3 separate regions of the Homo sapiens genome follow, and regions 1 and 3 are each linked to region 2. Evidence: promoter capture Hi-C in human tissues and cell types (Jung and others, 2019). All regions are on one chromosome and are shown on one strand. Each heading gives the region's core, a stretch centred on a gene start or on the middle of the fragment in contact. The rest is flanking DNA. Distances are from core to core; before and after follow the strand shown. Region 1 has its middle 38 kb from the start of UBR2. Region 2 holds the start of MRPS10 (mitochondrial ribosomal protein S10). Region 3 overlaps UBR2 (ubiquitin protein ligase E3 component n-recognin 2).

Evidence for each region. The method cuts DNA at HindIII sites, captures the fragments that hold promoters and counts their contacts. A contact is called where the count stands out against the background at its distance.
Region 1: a contact is called between a fragment that was not itself captured here and the fragment with the promoter of MRPS10 in region 2, in 1 of the 25 tissues and cell types used here (aorta).
Region 3: a contact is called between a fragment that was not itself captured here and the fragment with the promoter of MRPS10 in region 2, in 1 of the 25 tissues and cell types used here (aorta).

Annotation. Positions count from the first base shown.
Region 1 is chr6:42,524,269-42,527,016 of GRCh38, forward strand. No RefSeq gene overlaps it. Among named protein-coding and RNA genes, the nearest start is that of UBR2, 38 kb to the right of the region's middle. The HindIII fragment of the contact is 9,731 bases long and covers 1-2,748 here.
Region 2 is chr6:42,216,412-42,219,111 of GRCh38, forward strand. MRPS10 (mitochondrial ribosomal protein S10) reads right to left here and starts at 1,450. Exons shown (of 7, transcript NM_018141.4): 1 at 1,391-1,450. The coding sequence starts at 1,438. RefSeq lists enhancers at 1-164, 165-766, 1,338-1,617. The HindIII fragment of the contact is 13,512 bases long and covers 1-2,700 here.
Region 3 is chr6:42,594,504-42,597,203 of GRCh38, forward strand. The region is part of intron 4 of UBR2 (ubiquitin protein ligase E3 component n-recognin 2); the gene reads left to right. Among named protein-coding and RNA genes, the nearest start is that of UBR2, 32 kb to the left of the region's middle. The HindIII fragment of the contact is 7,676 bases long and covers 1-2,700 here.

The sequences.
Region 1 (2,748 bases), core at 193-2,692, 310 kb after region 2:
ATAATTCTATATATTATTCCATATCCTATATAGAATAATTCTATATATTATTCCATATCCTATATAGAATAATTCTATATATTATTCCATATCCTATATAGAATAATTCTATATATTATTCCATATCCTATATAGAATAATTCTATATATTATTCCATATCCTATATAGAATAATTCTATATATTATTCTATATAATATACAGCAGTGTATTCACGCTGCTGTAAAGATACTACCTGAGACTGGGTAACTTATAAAGGAAAGAGGTTTAATTGACTCACAGTTCTGCATGGCTAGGGAAGCCTCAGGAAACCTACAATCACGGCGGAAGGGGAAGCAAGGCACTTTCTTCACAAGGTAGCAGGACAGAGAGCAAGCAAGAGCAGGAAAAACTGCCTCATTATACCATTGGATCTCATGAGAACTCACTATCACAAGAACTTCATGGGGGAAACCACCCCCATGATCCAATCACCTTCCTCCCTCAACACGTGGGGATTACAATTCGAGATGTGATCTGGTTGGGGGACACAGAGCCAAACCATATCACACTATATGCTGAATTCTAGAATAGAGGTGCAATGGGTCGTGAGCACATAGAAGAGGAATTGTTTGACTCCATCTAGGGAAGGGAGGGGTTCAAAGCTTCTTATATAATGCTTTGGCTGCAAAGAACAGTGCCCAATTACAGTGGCCTAAGTAGTAAAGATATTTGCTATCTTACATATAAGAAGTATGGAGCTGAGAAGTCCAGGGTTAGTGTAGAATGCCATTAAGAACCAGGCTCCTTTTGTCCTGTGCATGACGGGAGAATCATTTTACTTTAAATCTCTTTATTTAAATCATTTTATTTTAAATCTTCTTCATTGTGAATTTAATATGAGCATTTCATGCTCATATTCATCATTTCTGATTCAGCAGTTCTGAATTTTTTCAGTAGATAAAATACATTTCAGGGTTTTAAAAATGTGATTAACTTACTCAGGCCAAATATGTTTACTTATCCTACGCATGTGACGCAGTACCTTTCAGTTCTGCAGTCATGACTGTACATTCCTTGATTGTCCCAAGAGTTGCTGAGTTTACCTTTATAACAACCGTTTTAGAGTCCAGAGGTAATTTCTCTCCAGCTCTAATAAAAATGACAAACTAGGTCAACTTCATTTGTCTTTGAAGTATGTTAGGAAGAAAAGGCAAGGTTGCAATTTTTTAAACTGTATTTATTTGTTTGATTACATGAGAGTAATACGTCTGTGTTCTAGAAGGTGTGGGCAATAAAGGAGGTTATGCAAGTTGGAAGTAGGAAGAAGGACAAAGGGGGCCTCCTGGAGTTGTGCAGTGCGCAACCTATGAGGCCATATGTGACAACCTTATTCTGAACACAGAGCACAGAAATAAAAATGCCCCATGACTCTACCTCCCAACAACAATATTAACATTTTGCTAAATTCAGCCCTTCTTCTAGGTATATAGTATGTTTAAATGATGTTATAATGTATAACTGCTTTATAACCTCTTTCACTTATAATTCATTATAAAAATTTTAAATACTTAAATATTCTTAAAAATATCATTCTCAATGGCACCATGTTTTATTGTTTTGTTTTGTTTGTTTGAGAACAGAGTCTCACTCTGTTACCCAGGCTGCAGTGCAGTGGTGCCATCTCAACTCACTGCAACCTCTGCCTCCCTGGTTCAAGCGATTCTCATGCCTCAGCCTCCTGAGTAGCTGGGACTACAGGTGCATGCCACCACGCCTGGCTAGTTTTTGTATTTTTTTGTAGAGACAGGATTTCGCCCTGTTGGCCAGGCTGGTCTCAGATTCCTGGTCTCAAATGATCCACCCACCTCGGCCTCCTGAAGTGCTGAGATTACAGGCATGAGCCACTGGGCCTGGCCTATTTTTTCATCCAACAAACACTTGTATGGTATTTTTATGTGAGCCAATATTTTAAGCTCATTAAAATATTAACTTGGCCAGACACAGTGGCTCACCCCTATAATCCCAGCACTTCGGGAGGCTGAGATGAATGGATTGCTTGAGCCCAGGAGTTCGAGACCAGCCAGGGCAACATGGTGAAACCCCACCTCTACAAAAAATACCAAGATTGGCCAGGCATGGCGGCATATGCCTGTAGCCCAGCTACTTGAGAGGCTGAGGTGAGAGGATCGTTTGAGCCCAGGAAATTGAGGCTGCAGTGAGCCATGCTCATGCCACTGCAGTCCAGCCTAGGCTACAGAGTGAGACCTCATCTCTAAAATAATAATAATAATTAACTCATGCGATCCTGCAGAGATATCTTTGTTTGCCCCTCCAGATGCCTCTATCCCCTCTCACCCTGCTCTGTGCCCTGGAAGGCTGATCTGAATAGACGGCAACAACAGGCTCTGTGACGTCTCCTTCTTCGGGTTTGCCCAGTGAGAGCTGTGGTAGTTTGGATTATCATTCCCAACTCTGTAATCTCTCCCTGTGTTAGGATTTTCCATGAAAGTATATGGAATATAAATATCTATTCCATTTATTTTAGGATCAGTCACATGACACACTTTGGCCAATGGGATGTTTGTAGACACCCTGAGCAGAGGACTGGAATGGAGTTTCCTTGGGTTGGCCTCTTGGCCACTCTCTCCAAAATGAGAGGCCCATGAAGCAGACCTGAATCTGACCCAAAGCCTGAAGCAGAGCAGGCCCAGTCAACTCAGAAGGAAGAAAAACAAATGTTTGTAGTTTGTAGCCACTGAGGTTTGTG
Region 2 (2,700 bases), core at 200-2,699:
GTTGGGGGAGTGGTGGTTTGGAAGGGAGGGCTGTCTGGGTAAATTTGTCTTAATAAAGCAGTTCAAAAATTTCAATCTCTAATACCATCTGACTTTTCTCAAGAACAGTGGTTTTCAGGCCGGGTGCGGTGGCTCAAGGCTGTAATCCCAGCACTTTGGGAGGCCGAGGCTGCCGGATCACTTGAGGTCAGGAGTTCGAGACCAGCCTGACCGACATGGTGAAACCCCGTCTCTGCTAAACATACAAATACTAGCTGGGCATGGTGACGCATGACTGTAATTCCAGCTGCTCGGGAGGCTGAGGTAGGAGAATCACTTGAACCCGGGAGGTGGAGGCTGTAGTGAGCCGAGATCGTGCCATTGCGCTCCAGCTTGGGCGACAAGAGCGAAACTCCGTCTCCAAACAAAAACAAAAACAAAAACGGTGGTCTCAAAGTGTAGTCTGAGGACGTCTGTGGGGTCTGAGACACTTTCAGGGGATCCGGGAAATCAAAACTATTTTCATAAAACCAAAACGTCATTTACAACTTTTCCACTCATTCTCTTACCAGTGTACAGTGAAGTTTTCCCGTGACAGCCTGAGGTGTGATATAGGAAAAGATTAAATACAGAAGCAGATTTGAATCTAGCTTTTATTAAGCCAGAAATTAAAGAGAGCTGCAAAAATGTAAAACATTGCTGCTCCTTACTCAGTTTGTTCAGAAAATATATTTTTCATAAAGTATTAGTTGTAACATGTAATGAGTTAGTGTTACTTTTAAATCAATATATATTCTTAAGTTTTATTTTCCAAAAAGCTAAATATAGATAGCAAAAACCCACAAAAACAAAAGCTCTCTGGAGTCCTGAACTCCGAAAGTGTAAAGTGGTCCCAAGGCCAAAAAGCAGGAGAACCGCTGCTGAAAAGTTTTTGCTCCTCCTGCAAATAACTGCGCAGAGGATATCTAACCCACTTCTCTGGCTTGAGACCTTCATCTAAATTTGGATGCCAGGAAAGCATCTCAATTTAGTTCCATGGGAAGAGTCTGATATCTTGCACCAGCTCAGCCTCTAATTTTCGCGAGGCAAATTTCCTGTCTTCTCTGAGCCTCAGTTTATTTTGCAAGCGTGAAAGGAGGGGTTTTGGAACATACGAAGTACAAAATCTTTTCCAGCTCTGACATTCTACGATTATTCTTGTTCCTATCTTTGCCTGGACTCACTAACTTATATTTAATTCCATGAGAGAATTCTGATAAAACTAGCCCCTTTCTCGTCACTTTCCTGTAAACGGCGCGAGGTGAGGGATAAATATCAGGAAAAATCCTGATGGGCAGAGCGGCTGGTGGCAGGGAAACTTAAAAGCAACTATCCCGGTCAGCCCTCCTAGTCTCCCTAGCCAATCCAGTACCTGCCAGAGGCGCCGGCACACAGCACCGAACGCTGTCCGCGCCGCCATCTTGCCGGTCCCGACCTCTCAGGATTGCTTCCGGGGTTACAGCGGCGTCCTCAGACCATAGAGTTCCGCAAAAGAAGAGAGTACATCCTCATGTTCCGGCGCTGGAACAACCATAGAGACATGAACCTGTGCTTTTTGGGGGCGGGACAGTTGGCTGGCCAGGCTGGTTTGGCTCCGGCCAGTGTCTGGATAGTTACCAAGCCCTATTAATGTTTTCACCTTTAAATTGTTGTGTGTGTATACACACACACACACACACACATTTATTTATTTACTTATTTTTTCCTTTTAGAGACTGAGTCTCACTCGGCTGCCCAGGCTGGAGTGCAGTGGCACAGTCATAGCTCACTGCAGCCTCAAACTCCTGCCTCAAGTGATCCTCCTGCCTCAGCCTCCCAAGTAGCTGGACTACAAGTGCGTGCCACCACAGCCGACTAATTTTTTGTTTTTTTTTTTAATTTTCTTGTAGAGACAGGGTCTCATTATATTGCTCTCGTTATTTTGTGGGCTGGTCTTGAATTCCTGTCCTCAAGTGATCCTCTGGCCTTGGCCTCCCAAAGGACTGAGATTACAGGCATGAACCACAAAGCCCGGACTGAAACTAGTGTATTGACACCATTTACTTCAGTACTGGAATAATGGGTGATTTATTTTCCTATTTTTGCATTTTTCAATTTTTTTTGCATTTTTCAAAATTTTAACAAAATCTATATTTAACAAGAAAAAGAAAAGTCGGCCACTACCATTGGGTCCAGTTGCCACTCAGTTACCTTATTGCAGCGGCTTTCTAATTATGGTTCTTAATCCTTTCTTCCTTCCCCACACCAATTGGAATTCCTGTGCTCCAACCATTTTGTATACCGCTGTCCTACTGATCTTTCTAAATTATTCATTTCCTTATGTTACTCTAGTATTTAGGAATTTACAATGGCTAGCTTCACTTACAACAAGCCAAAGTGTTTTGTCTAATTATTAATGTCCACCATAATTTTTTCCAAGTAAAAAGATGTATAACTGGGATTTGCTATAATAAAAACTTCTTCAGGCTGGGTGCGGTGGCTCACGCCTGTAATCCCAGCACTTTGGGAGGCTGAGGTGGGCGGATCACCTGAGGTCAGGAGTTCGAGACCAGCCTGGCCAACATGGTGAAACCCCATCTCTACTAAAAATACAAAAAATTAGTGGGGTGTCATCGTTGTGTGCCTGTAGTCCCAGCTACTCAGGAGGCTGAGGCACGAGAATTGCTTGAACCCGGGAAGTGG
Region 3 (2,700 bases), core at 15-2,514, 380 kb after region 2:
AATTCTGATTTTTTATTTGGTTGGGGTTTTGTTTTAAGCATACTTGAAGTTTATTTGAGTACTAACCTATGGTTGAGAGGATTATTTTTCCCATATGTGTAGACCAGTTAACCAAGTTGAGTTTTGTATATCTTTATTATAACAAAGACTTTTGGGGCCAGATAGCTTTCTTTTCTGTTACCATACATGACAGCCAATCCCAATCATCATCTCCTGGTTTCCATTATCATTGGTTATGTGATGGGACCATGTGTAGTGATGATAGCTCAGTACAAATAATTCCCACTGCTTACTGTGTTTTTCAAATTGTTGATCCTGCATTATTTTTCTTAAATGGATTTGTAATGGAATAGTAGAGTCCCACAAAATAAATGCTTAAATCTCTGCTGCTTTTTTTAAAACTTCAAAAACTTTCCATATATTTCTAATAACTCACTTAACTGTAATTATACAATGATTAAATCTTTCAATGGTATGCTACAATAGATTATGTTTTATTATTTTTAATTGACAATAATTGTACATATTTATGGGGTACAGCGTGATATTTATGGGGCACAGTGTGATATTTTGATACATATATACAATGTGTAATGAGCAAATCAGGGTAATTAACATATCCATCACCTCAAGCATTTAACATTATTTGGTTTTGGAAACCTTCACCATCCGCTCTTCTAGCTATTTGAAAATATACAGTAAATTGTTAATTATAGTCATGCTATAGTGCTGTAGAACATTAGAACTCATTCTTTCTATCTAGCTTTGTTCTTGTATCCGTTAGCCAACCTGTGGCAGTCCCTCTTCTGCTACATTTTATGACAATTTGTTGTATAGTTCAAGATCCTTCTTTCAGATTTTATTTTTAAATGGCAGGGGAATAGGTACACTCAAGTACGTCTACATTGTTAGTAGGCCTGATATAGATTTGGGGCAAGTGGACATCAATAGTCCTTCCTCAGCCAGGCAAGGTGGCTCATACCTATAATACCAATACTTTGGGAAGCCAAGGCGGGTGGATCACTTTAACCCAGGAGTTTGAGACCAGCCTGGGCAAATGGCAAAACCCCATCCCTACAAAAAATACAAAAATTAGTTGGGTGTTGTGGCACGTGCCTGTGGTCCCAGCCACTTGGGTTGGGGGTGCTGAAGTGGGATCCGCTTGAGCCATAGGAGGCAGAGGTTGCAGCAAGCCAAGATCATGACCCTGTCTTTAAAAAAAAAAAAAAAAAAGTTCTTCCTGGTACCCATATCCTACAGGTCTCAAATATATTTTATCAGAATGACCAAAGCTTTTGATGTACAAATCAAAATTTATACAAAATGATTCAGTGCTATGGAAAACATGTTTTGTTTTTCATTTGCTTTGTGAAAGGGTTCTGTAATTTGCTACAGTAAGATGCCAAGTGGTCAAGGTTCCAGATTTTTCCACTTCTATTGGAGAAGCTCCATTTTTATATAGTTGATTGGGGTTCTGTATGTAGAAATACAGGACAAATAAAGATATATTTGAAAAAAAAGAATTGTGCTTTAGAAAAAGGTTAAAAACCACTGGTATAAAACTTTAGGACTGCAGGAGAAAGTATATGTGTGTATATCCAAGCCATGTATCCAAAAAGGATCTAGTATGCAGAGTTTATATCTTACAACTCAGCAAGTAAAAAGATAACCCAATTTAAAAATGGGCAAAAGACTTGAATAGACATTTTTACAGAGAAGATATATGAATAATCAACAAACACATGAAAAGATGCTGAACATCATTAGTCATTAGGGAAATGCAAAATCAAAACCACAGTGAGATACTGCTTCACCCTCAGTAAGATGACTATTAAAGTAATAACAAGTATTGACAAGGATATAGAGAAATTAGAACCCTTGTATATTGCTAGTGGAAATATAAAATGATTCAGTGCTGTGGAAAACAGTTTGGCTGTTCCTCAAAATATTAAACATTACCGTATATTTCACACCTAGATATATACCCAAAAGAACTGAAAACCGAAGTTGAGCAAGTACATGCACACACATGTTGTAGCAATGTTGTTCACAATAGTCAAAAGGTAGAAACAGCCCAAATGTCCATCAGTGAATGAATGGATAAACAAATTGTGATAATATACATACAATGGAATATTTTTCGTCCATAAAAAGGAATGAAGAACTGATACATGCTACAACATGCATGAACCTCTAAAACATATTAAGTGAAAGACGCTAGACTCAAAAGGTCACATATTGTATGATTCCTTTTATATGAAATATTCAGAATAGGTAAATCTGTAGAGAGAAAAAACAGATTGGTAGTTGCCAGGGGCTGGGGAAGAGGAAAATGGAGAGAAATGGCTTAGTAGGTAAGGGGTTTTACTTTGGAGTGATGGAAATGTTTTGGAACTAGATTGTAGTAGTTGCACGTTATAATAAATGTACCAAGTACCACTGAGTTGTTCACTTTAAAATGGTTAATTTTATGTTCTGTAAATGTCATGTCATTTATTTGGAAAAGATACTTTAGGACTTCTGTTACCTTTTTTATCCCTGTGTTAGAGTAGACTTAAAATAATTTTCTAATGAAAAGTTTTGAATCTGCCTACATTTGCTCTGTTGGCTTTATCCTCATACATTAGTGGGATGGCTATCCAACAGTCCAAGCTCTACTTAATTTCCTGAATTTTAAGAAGACACCAGCAAGCTCCCCTG